Regions from separate parts of the Homo sapiens genome. Here region 2 is linked to region 1. The links are contacts of gene promoters, found by promoter capture Hi-C in human tissues and cell types (Jung and others, 2019). All regions are on one chromosome and are shown on one strand. Each heading gives the region's core, a stretch centred on a gene start or on the middle of the fragment in contact. The rest is flanking DNA. Distances are from core to core; before and after follow the strand shown.

Region 1 (5,936 bases), core at 1,957-4,456:
AAGCATTTTCATGAACAGAAATGCCTGTGTTGTTGACAAATGATGAACAAGCCATGAAAGAGTAAGTCTTCAAAAATATACAAAAGACTAAAACAAAATCACTTTTAAAGCATGAATTCTGAGTTCTGACAGGATCCAAGCTCAAATTTACTTTCTAGAGCATGTAGATGGCCTTTGGTGAGTTACATGTCTCTGAGCATCAATTCCCTCAAATGTAAAACGAGAAGCACATTTGTACTTGTTTATTCGTTTGTGATGGAGGTTAAATAAGATAATTTGGGGAAAGCAGTTGGCAGAATGCCTGAAACAGAAGAGTACTCTGCAAATCAGTCTATTCTCCGTCCCTGTTAATAGTACATTGAAAAACCAGTTAGGGTCTTTCTTCATTCATGGCACTTTTTTCACTTTAGATGGAATTAAGACATAAGTTAAGGCCAGTCTATTGAACAACTCAATAACAAGCAGGAAAATGAAGGAAAGAAATCAGTCAATAATTCATTGTTTGTTGGCTCTACATCCTGTAGATTATAGCCCCACATGGAATTATTTTTTATAATTGTGGTTTTGAAAGAGAAACTTGGATTTTTGTTTCCATTGAATGTTTTAATTAATCTAATATTGTGTCTTTAGAAGCATAGACTTCTTCAGTTTGGTAACCTAAAAGTTAACAGTAAATTGACTTGCATTTATGTTAAAGTAAACTTCTCCTTAAATTTTATACCCTCCAAAGGCCTACATTCTTTAAAAAAATAATTTGCTTTCATTGTAAGCAAGTTAAAATAATAGTCTTTCAGTTTAATTAGCAGTTTATTGAATGATTAAATATATGTTTAAAGTGGCCAAAAAATAATATCATGTTATTATACTAGGAATAAATCCTCCATTAACATTAATTGAGTTTTAACAAATGAGTTGATTAGGAGGAAAGGAAAGAGGAACCAGCTCACCAGATGCAACTTGGTGCCAGACACCTGGTTCCTGCATGGACCTAATGTTCTTTTGTCATAGCACCTTGGAAAAAATAATCAGTGGCTGCATTTCTTAAAAATAATACACTTCCCAGTGAATGAATCATGTACTAAAATGATTGCTTTTGATTTATTTACTCATTTTGTTTTTCAAAGAGTTTATATTCATTTCTCAGAAAATTATGGAGGATAATCAAATTGTCATGCATTTATATGTAAAAAGAGCAGCACAGATGATATGTGGTAATGACCTAAATTTGTCTTGACTAGTTTAATTTCCTACTTTCTCTGCCATAAGTAAGAATGTATGCTGAGACTAACTCAAAAATATTAAAATATAGCAGGGCTCCAGGTATGAAGCAGGATATGGTCATGATAGGATTCAGCCAAATCTAGAGGACTCATGGGACCAGGAGAGTTGCAAAGTGAAGATCATAATGTGTCTTAGATGAAGTTCTTGGCAAGGAGATGGGGTGAGAATTCAGAATAGAGCACTATTTCTGTGCTGGAATTTGTCATCTGATGGGGCTGCCAGAGATTCATATAGGAGACCTCACAAGGAGCCGGGGTGGGAGTGGCAGGGTGGGAGGGAAAGGGTTAGTCACACAGAATTTGAAAAACAAAACCAACAAAGCCAAAAACAGCTGACAAGGTCTTTTAGTTATTATTATTATTTACAAATTCTGTACGAATTTGAGGGCTTAGAAATTTGGACCAAAAGGGGTGGGGAGTTTTTCCCTTCCCTCCATGTAGCTCTGTGAGACCTCAGCACAAGGAGAGATAAGCCAAGAATGCTGCAGCTAGAAGATTGCACCTGGTGGGAGACAACCCACAGATGCCACAGCAGGGGCCAGTCCCTTCTCCAGCTTTGCAGGTAGGATAGGCCTTGACAGTGTCCAAAAGGACTTTATTAGCTCACATGAATTCCCTTCAGAGGTCCCAGGATCACTGGCAAAGGCTTCTGGCAGAGGCTGGAGGGACCACCATATTATAGTTAATATGATTCTATTATAACCCAGACTGGTGTAACCTCGATTAGTACTTGTTAGAGGAGAGCATCAGCAGGGTTCTTGCCCATTAAGAGGAGGGACTGTGCATAATGGAGTGCTGGGAATTGCCCCACCTGTGGAGTCAACACACCCAAGGAGACTGGCACTGCACACTTACTGTGTGCCAGGCACTGCTCCAAATAAGTGTTTGAAGAGTGTTTCTTCATTTCATTCTCACAACAAGCCTGCTACTATACACATCTTTCATATGAGAAAACAGAAGCACAGAGACATTAAGTAGCATGCCCAGGTGACACAGTTTGTAAGTGGTAAATCTGGGACCTGAAGCAGAGAATCTGGCTCCAAAGCCTGTCCTCTTACTACCAAGTGACGTTTGTGCCTGGCACAGAGAAGGTGCTCATTAAATGTTTGCTGATTCAAATCATTTTACCAAGAAATTAAACATGCTTGAGCTTATTGTTCTGGACTTAATGCCCTGACTACTCTTAAAAAGCAAACAAAAATGCTTACAAGTACACCACAATGAAACAAAACCTGGAATTATCAGAACATGGTAAATGCTTTATTAGATTTTCTGATTGACCAAGGGAAATTACTCTAAGCTTTCAATGTCTTCTTTTCCTACAAGGGAACTAAATTTCCAGGAAGTTCTGTGACAAAGCCACAGAGCTGAGAAGTAAATTAGTCTGTGCTGGACCTAGGATTTCCCTTGTTCTTCCACCTCTGTCCCCAGCAATTGCTTTGCTGCCTATTCTCAGGGGAAGGCATTGCACTAGCCATGCATGCTCCCTGGAGAATGACAACTTGAACTGCAAAATCTCAAAGGTTGTGCTTCTTTTGTTCTTCCTCTCATCTAGTTGATAGGCAGAGAACAATTCTGATTGAATATTCTATTTAATTATGTTTAATCATACTAAGAATCAACCAATGTTAATTATTAAAAAGGGAGAAAATGGCCAAAACATCATGTACAACCATCCTGACTTTAGGTATGAAGGGTCAACATTCATTCAGCTCTGAGCCAGGCAGTTAAACAGCAAACAGTTTTAATAAAGGACAATTAAATAAGTCAGGAAATCCACCAGTCTGTTCTCCAGGTTCACTCACCTTGGTGTGGAGGACGATGGGCAGAGGTAGTAAAACCAACACAGTGAAAACCACGAAGAGAAATCGGCGATAAACCAGAATGTAACTGAAGAATTTCATTGTCCTGAGCAGGTGGCTTCAATAGTGTCCTCCAAATAAAGCAGATGTTAAATAACCAACTTGGATTAATATTTTTCCAGCCTGTCACCTTCACTCACTGCCCTAGACCGACCAACACAAGTTAAAATTAAATCTCATTTTTTATTGTTTTACTATCACAATTAACATGAAGAGATAGGCCCAAGACTTTTCATGAGAAATCAAAGACCATTTGCTCCTCTGGGTTTTCAAGGAAAAACTGTTCTTTCCCTGCTTTCTTTGATCACATTCACTGAAATACAGACTGGACAAGCCTAGGAGAAGGCAAAACCATGAAGCTGGTTGTTTGTTCACAATGAGGCACTTCCAACCCTTTTGATGTCCTCTGACTTCCAGACTCCCTAACTGGAGTAGTTACCACATTGTCATGGTGCCATGAGTGAGTCTCCACAGGCAGCCTCCATGGCCCTTTCTAAGGAAGTATGTTTTCAGTGTGTAAATTGAAATAGCAACTAATAGTTGGAATTTCAGTGTATGACAGTGAAAGGGAAACTTTTTTGTTTAGAGATGGATTTTTAACGGACTTCTTGGACAATGTATTGCAAGGGTCTTCTACAAAATTTATAGCAAATGTCCCTGTTGGTTAGAAGCAAAGTTTTGTGTATTTCTTGGACCCTATTGTCTCTTTTGATAGAAAACCAAAATAACCATGAAGTGTTATATAAACCCTCTATTTTAAGACCTTTGAAGGCTTGATTTGATACTGTTGTGCTGATACAGACTACATAATTATCAGGGAATCTGCATAAAGATGAGTGATTAGGGACATTCAAGTGGTGTGTGATGTGTGTGTGTGTATGGTTTGTGCACATGAGCACATGGGAAGTTGGAGACTGTTCCAACAGTGATATGGAGGATGTATTTTGAAAATCTTCAGGGATAAGGACCCTGGTTTTTTTCACGTTGTGTTGTAAATTGATGATCCAGTAAACCTCAAGTTAGCAACTACTACTTGTCTTTAGATATAAATGAAACACATTCCCAGCCCTACTAGAATTTATAGTCAATATCTCTTGACATAGATAACCTTACTCTTATGTAATCTATAGTTAGCATTTAGGTCTTATTTCTAACTTCATACTAATATAACTCTGCATTCTCTTTCCATCAAGAGAAACAATTCTCTCACCAGTACTCACCATATTAATGTAAATGAGAAAGCATTTTTTTCCTGTAAAAAATTTAAATTCCTAAACATCTATTATGGACAGTTATTCAGGAAAATCAGAATAGTAAACAGAAAAAAAGTTTCCAAACCAGAAAGTCTTATTATATCTTAAATTTCTTAGATGAAAGGATAATTACAAATGATATTGTAATAAAATGGTAAGTGATAATAAATAGGTAACAATAGTATATAGTGTTAAAATTAATTTATGAACTGATTTACTCAAACCAGTTGTAGTACTTATTTTTTTCCATTAACACCCTGTACAGTTCTCTAGTTCATTGCATGCTTTTTTTTAAACTACTACTTTTTGAAGAAACCATTTTTGCTCTCAGATTTCCTTCAGCTACCTGGTGAGATGATTTGAGCCTCACTTTTTCATCTTAGAGGATTTTACTTTGTGAGATGACACCAAAAAACGAAAAGGCATTTGTGTGACATTTAAAGGAAATGAGAGCCTATGTGTAGGCAACTGGAACCAGACAGAGGCTAAGGGAAAAGCACTTGACATTTGTTAGTCCCTCCTTTCTGTGCCCTATTTTCTCTCTTTAGGTCCTCATTTCTCACCAGAGGAAGGCTCCAGGACCCTATTCTTATGGCCTGGGCTCTAGCTAGCTGAATCTGCTGTGGGTGTTCATTATTACAAAACAGCCTCACCTTCTCCTTACCTTCAGCCAACCTCTTATTCCTCGGTGGTTTTCTCTTCACTGTCATAGAGAGAAAAAAATCTAATAAAATAATTTGCACTAAACATGAATGACTGATGTGAGCTGAATGTCTCTGCAAGAGTCACTGGGGAATGAAACTCTAAGGGAGACTTCGGGGCCCCTTGGATACATATCTTAAGGTACCCTTCAAATCACATCACGCTTTAACTAGCTCCATGCCTAGGACAAATTAGTCACAGTTGTCAAATTTCACCTCTTCTTTGTACAGAAAATCATAAACCTTACTACATCATAATTGTGTTATGTTTTATCTAAACTGAATCACACCATTACATAATCATGAATCAGTTCATGACTATGTTCATTCATTTGTTCTTAAGCTTCGCCTAGCCCTTAATTAAAAAACATGTTTACCAAAAAAATCACAGATATTGTTCATTCATTCATTGTTATAGTTATATCCTATGTCCCAGAGAGTTTACATTTAGTACCTCATTTAATCTTCAAAACTTGATACAAGTTATATGTATGTATTGTTATTATTATTTATATTTTATAGATTTGAAAACTAAGATTCAAAGAGGTAAAGTAAAATATCCCAGGTACTAAATGGCAAAACAATTCATTTGAATCCAGTTCTTTCTGGCACCTAAGGCAATGCTCCTTGTACTACGTTTGAGGTCTACCATCAAGAATATTCATTTGGCACTAAGCACTAACTTCAAGTCTAGAATTTGTATGGAGATACCTGGTTTGGTTAGTTTAGGGACTGTAGTTCTGGCGTTTGCCATTGAGACTTCTGGATGGTCATAAATTATGTGAAGCTCAGGTTCAAGCACAGAGGAAATGAAGGGTTTCTTATTGGTAGTAAAGAAGT
Region 2 (5,936 bases), core at 1,888-4,387, 36 kb after region 1:
AAGTAAGTACATGTCATCACCAGACCATGTTTTCCTCAGATATGAGTGAGAAGGGAATGCCTTAATAAAGACAATGACTTCCAAGTATTATACCAAGGAATTCTCTATTGAGTGAGATAAACATATAATTATCTGTTACTGACAAAATTAAACATCCTTTTTTCCCTCTTGGATAATACAACAGTATTTCAGTCATAGAGAAAGCTTTCCAAAAGTATTTGGTTGTGAGAGAGTAATTGAATTGAGAACTATTGTGAATTGAAGCCAAACACATACCAGAGTTTCACAGGTCAGGCAGACATATGTTAATAGGACAATCACTGTTTCCTTTTCAGCCCTAAATGTAGAGCAGCTGAATAGGATAGTATCTAGAGTGAAAAAATGAATAAAGTGCAGTTTTTTTTCAAAAATCAATTGCCAAGAACCGCAATGATTTAATCAGTAGGGACTTCTGGACAAAGTGCGAATAAACTTGTTAATGTGTGGGGCATTCTGCCTGCCTGCAAAAGTTGGAGCTTTTCATAGTTCAGGGTAAAATTCTGTAAACTTTGTGAATTCATATCTATGTGAATATATGCTTTTTCCTAGGAATACAGAATATAGCTTTTATCAGCATCTTTAAAAAGTCTAGTTTTCAAAAAGGGTCATTACTAAGAGGGAGTTTGGGGTCCCTACTGACCTCTGTGGTAACATTAGCCTGGTGTGGACCAGGAAGCCTGATCAGGTCTTCTGACCCAAGCTAAACAGACCTAGACTCTTCAGCCTTGTCCATAATCTCCAGTTCAGTCACACAGAAGTGCCAAAAATCCTCCTAACTTCCTATGTCTTTATGTGACAGTTTTATCTTTGGCTTCTAATCATTTTTAATTTACCTTATTTAATTTAAAGTTCCCAGAATTTTCATCATCCCAACATTGTCACTTCTTCTTCTTCACCACTTATTTCTAGACAACTTATTTTGTGTCTTCTTCAAGTTTGTTTCTTTTGGATTATGTTCCTAACATATATAGAAAGTTGCAGATTATGACCTACAAGAGGACCCTAGGGAACACTGGCTTTTATTGAGCAGATGGAATAGGAAATTATACAAGAATGACACAGGTCCATCAGAGAAATGGGAGAAGAACCATCAAGAGAAGATGAGATCAAGGACAGGGTGAGTTACAACAGGAATATTCCTTGCATGTGTCCTTGGATGGAGGTTGTGAGTGACCTCATGGGAGTATTTTCCTGAGGACATGGAGGTGGAAGTCAGACTGCAGTGGGTTAAAGGGTCACTAATGAGCCAATGGTTTCAGTGACATGGTTAGCTATAAAGAGAAGGAAAGAGGAGGAAGCAAGAGATTCGGTTGATCATTTATTTGGGTAAAAAGCCCTATATATGCTGAAGGAAAGAATGCAAGGGGCGAGTAATGTTTTAGAAGCAAGAGGAAAATTTAATGTTACAATCCCTCAACATGAGGAAAAAACGGTCTATTTTTGGTGTTTTTATTTCATTGTATAGTGTCTTTGAAGACGAGTTGCCTATTTTTCTTGGTAGAGCTATATATAGTAAAACCCTGTATCCATAAAGCATAGCTCCAGGTAGTCAGTAGTAAGGTTATATTGAGAAGATAAAGATGTCTTATTCTTCACTTCAAAAATAGTTTGATATTCTCACCTCTTCACTTCCCCGCTTTAATGTTGGCAGATGACACATATGTTCTCTTTTCTAAAGCAACCACATTCACCACTTGTCTTCGTACTAGGCATTATTCCCTCTTTCTACCATTTTCAATCTGTTTGGCTACATACATCTTTAATTCACCCCTGTTATTCCCTAAATCTTGAGAGTTTCAAATCCACTTTATTCAGTACACTTTCAAATTAACATTCTAATTCTCTCTTTTATCTCTAGTTTTCTTAAGAGTAATTTTGCTCTCTTCTTTCTCAGTTTCTATTTATTTATCACCTCCTGGCAATCTAGCCTTTGTCCTCAGCAATTGCCTTTGCCTATCCTCTCACCTGCAAATGACAAGGAAGAGAATCCACACCTTCTGCCCACTCTGTCTCACTTTCTGCTCACTTCCTGGACCCTGGAGCCTGCTTGCTTTGCCCTGTGGGATCCCTTCTCTGTTTTCTATTGTTATTGGTTCCAAGTTTGGCTCTTGCATGGAGCAGGTATTCACAGCTGTATGACTTGTGGTGCAAAGGTGAAGGGTACCACAGGTACACAGAATTGTTATGGTATATGGTGGTGGTGAGTGAAGGCCCTTACTTCAAGCTTCTTTAGTTTACATTCTAATTCCTCCACTTATGACCTATGTGGCCCTAGGTAGGTTACTCACTCTTATTGTCAAAAATGAAGATATTAGTTCTTAACTTATAGGCTTATTGGGAGAACCAAATAAGTTAAAGTGCTTAGAATAACACCTGGTCTTTTATATTAAGCTGAATGTCATATGACTTATAAAAATGGCTGTATAATTTTTGTACTAATAAAATAACTGCTTACTATATATTTCAATCATGTTCAGAAATGCATTTATGTAAGTCCCAGATCTGCTCTATCCTTTAATCCAGATTCAAGGGTTTTACACTTCTAGCATAAAATATAATTAAAAAAGAATCTACCCCATAGTGTTGGACACTTTAGACAATCTGGCATGTAATATATTCTCCATAAATATTATAACTTGCCAGGTGAAAGAGCTTGTTGAAGAAAATCAGAGGCTTTCAAGGAGACAGCAACCTTTATTTACAGGGAGACCACAATGACCAGGGGAAGTGCAAGTCTTCTTAGAGGTTATGCTGAGTGGATAAAGCTCTCACACTGGAGAGCTGGACTTACCTAACAGACCCTTGAGTCCAAACAAGGACAGCCTTTGAGGTTGAAACTATCAGCAGCATGGACCTCGCTGGATCAATAGTTCTCACTTTCTTCATATCCCAATAGGATCATCACCTCCTGTGAAGGTAACCTACCAGAGACTTTGCTCTGTAGGTTGACTGCTCAAGTAAATTAGGCCCACATGGTAATCCTGAGTCAATTTTGGCTCATTCATTCATGGTCAGCAAATACATCTTGAGTATATATAGTAAGTACAAGGAACTAGGCTGGGTACAGGAATACAGTGATGTATAAGCTAGACATAATTCTGTTCTCATTAAACATGCTCAAAGAGAAAAATTTACCTTCGAAACATTGATGGACTTTCTATCTATATTTCAGAGAATCTCACAATACAACTATTATTTTTATAAGCAAAAGTTTCTTGCAATGTGTAGATTCTACCACTTCATTTTTAAACTTAAAATTAGGACATTAAAAGTTAAAAACCATAACTCTTCATATTGATCCTTTTTTTATAGTCAGCGGAAACAGAAGGGTAATAACAAAGTTTTACATTATTTTCAGCAATGTTTCGATTATTTGTTGCCCACAGGTTTCAGAAATTCTCCTCTTAAGACTGTGATTTCCAGGAATCAAACCCTCAGGCTCAGACATCTTAGTCATAAGTACTACTCATTTTCCCAGTGGCTCTGTAAGGTACAAATTTCCAGAAAGACTGGGCCGAGGTCTACGATTTCCTTCCTTCCTCCCCCACCTCTCCCTATGTTCCCTCCTTCTTTCTTCTTCTGTTCCTTCCCTTCCCTTTCAACACCAGACTACAAGAGGTTTGGGTTTCAGTACACTTCTTTATAGTTTTTAAATAGGACATTGTTTGTTATAGGAAAGCACCTTGCACAGATACTATTTTCCCAGCACCTAACTTTGGATATTTCTTTTCTTCTGGGTTTGAGGACCATAATCTAACTTCTTGTTTGCCTGACTTGCTATTTCTGCTATTTGTCCTGTTTGCAATAAACAAAGCACTTCAGGCATTTCCATATTTTTTGCAAGTTATCCCCTAAAGCTTGGTTTCTTCAAGCCATAGCCTACACATTCTGACATTCCCTCTGCTCAAACACACACTGAGGCTTTCTATCTAAGGACACAAAAACAATGCAGGTTTAAGGTTATCAGTCATGTCTGTCAAAGCAACTGCAATTGAGTAGGAAGAATATAAACACCAATGGCAATAATAATAATTATAAGAATTGTTTATAACTTTATATAATAACTTATACAAAGTATTATAATTACATATGGGTATTATATATCATATTATAATATGTGCATGTGTATATGCATCTATGTATACATATATGTTAAAATCAAATATACATTATATATACACTAAAAAAGACAGTGCTAAAATTCACAGATAGTTGATGCTTTTGGAATTCAGAGGATAAGATTGAGGATTAGGTTACTTTGGAAGAATTTTAGCAAAAACAATAGGTAAAGCTATGAAGAATGAGTAGGCTTTAGGAAGGAGAAGTGGACAGACTCTGGGGGAAAGTATGGCATAATCGGGAAGAGAGTCAGGAAACACAAAGCATTCTTTAGGGACATCTTCTTTTTCTTTTGTTTTTGTTTTTTTTTTTCCCAGGAATTGTGTAGTACATTACAGGACAAAGTAAGCCAGAAGTTTGGAAAATTAATAACTTTTCCAAAAGGGGACAGGTAGTGGAGGGCCAGGAGGCCAGGCTGAGGAGTTTGCACTTGACTCTGACACCCAGCCAGTGTGAGTCCAGCAAGCATGAGTGATGATTTTTTATTCCTGGTCATTGGCTATATGCTATTTTAAATATTGAGGATTATGGGGACGTTCTGTTACACATGTGTATACCCTGAAAGGAAATTTTAATTTTATTTCATTCTACTTTTTAAATGTTTAAATATATGACAAATAAAAAATATACTTTGATATAAGGAGTAAGCAGGGCTTTTACTTTAGATATTGTTTTCATTCACTAGTAGTTAATCCAACATCATTTGTTAAATACTCCATTTTATCTTCAATTACTTGAAATACTACCTTAATCATTCATATACTGAATTTTCTTATACATCTGGATGTATATTTTGTTTCATTGAAGAATTTATCTATTCTTATACCAAGACCATCCTTCTTTTATTTGTTCTTTTTTAAAAACAATTAGTTTTATTGAAGTATAATTTGAATCCAATTAAATTCACCCTTTTTAACTATAGATTTTGATAAACTTTGTGAAATATGTACGGACATATAACCAGCACCAAATCAAGATAGAACATCTGTCACCCTGAAGTTTTCTTATGCCCCTTTGCAGTCATTCCTCTCTCTGTATCCTCCAACTCCTGATAACTACTGTCCTGATTTTTGTCCCTATAATTTTGCCTTTTCTAGAATTTCATAATAAATGGAATCACACAATAGCCTTTTGTGCTGGGCTTCTTATACATAGCACTATGGCTCTGAGATTCATTCACACTGTTGCATGCAACAGTAGTTCTTTCCTTTTTATTACTGAATAGTATTACATTTACAGACGCAACATGTTTATCCAGACATCATCTAATGAACATTTAGATTGTTCCCAGTTTTTGGTTATTCTGAGTAAAACTATTATGAACATTTGCATACACATCTCTTGTGGATATGTTTTCATTTATTTTGAGTAAATACTTAAAAGTGGGATTACTGAGTCATCTGGAAAGTACCTAATGAAAAACAATCACACCGTCTCCTAATGTGGCTGAACCGTTTTGCATTTCTACAAGTAGAGTATGAGCTCCAGCTTTTTACATTCTTGTCAACACTTGATACTGTCAGTTTAAAAAATTTTAATCATTCTCATGGGTATATAGTGGTATTTTGATATGGTTTTAGTTTGCATTTCCCTATAGAATAATGATGTTAATTATATTTTCATGTGCTTATGAGTAATTTATAAAAATTCTTTGAAGTCTCTGTTTAAATCTTTGGTCTATTTTTAAAAATCAGGATGTTTGTCTTTCTACTTTGCCTGTTATTTTCATTATTGAGTTGTAAGTATTCTTTATATATTCTCAACACAAGTCTTTTATT

The links. The method cuts DNA at HindIII sites, captures the fragments that hold promoters and counts their contacts. A contact is called where the count stands out against the background at its distance.
Region 2: a contact is called between a fragment that was not itself captured here and the fragment with the promoter of SLC13A1 in region 1, in 1 of the 25 tissues and cell types used here (bladder).

The regions. Positions count from the first base shown.
Region 1 is chr7:123,196,763-123,202,698 of GRCh38, forward strand. It overlaps SLC13A1 (solute carrier family 13 member 1), which reads right to left and starts at 3,207. Exons shown (of 15, transcript NM_022444.4): 1 at 3,086-3,207. The coding sequence starts at 3,184. The HindIII fragment of the contact is 8,203 bases long and covers 1-5,936 here.
Region 2 is chr7:123,233,186-123,239,121 of GRCh38, forward strand. No RefSeq gene overlaps it. Among named protein-coding and RNA genes, the nearest start is that of SLC13A1, 36 kb to the left of the region's middle. The HindIII fragment of the contact is 3,808 bases long and covers 1,234-5,041 here.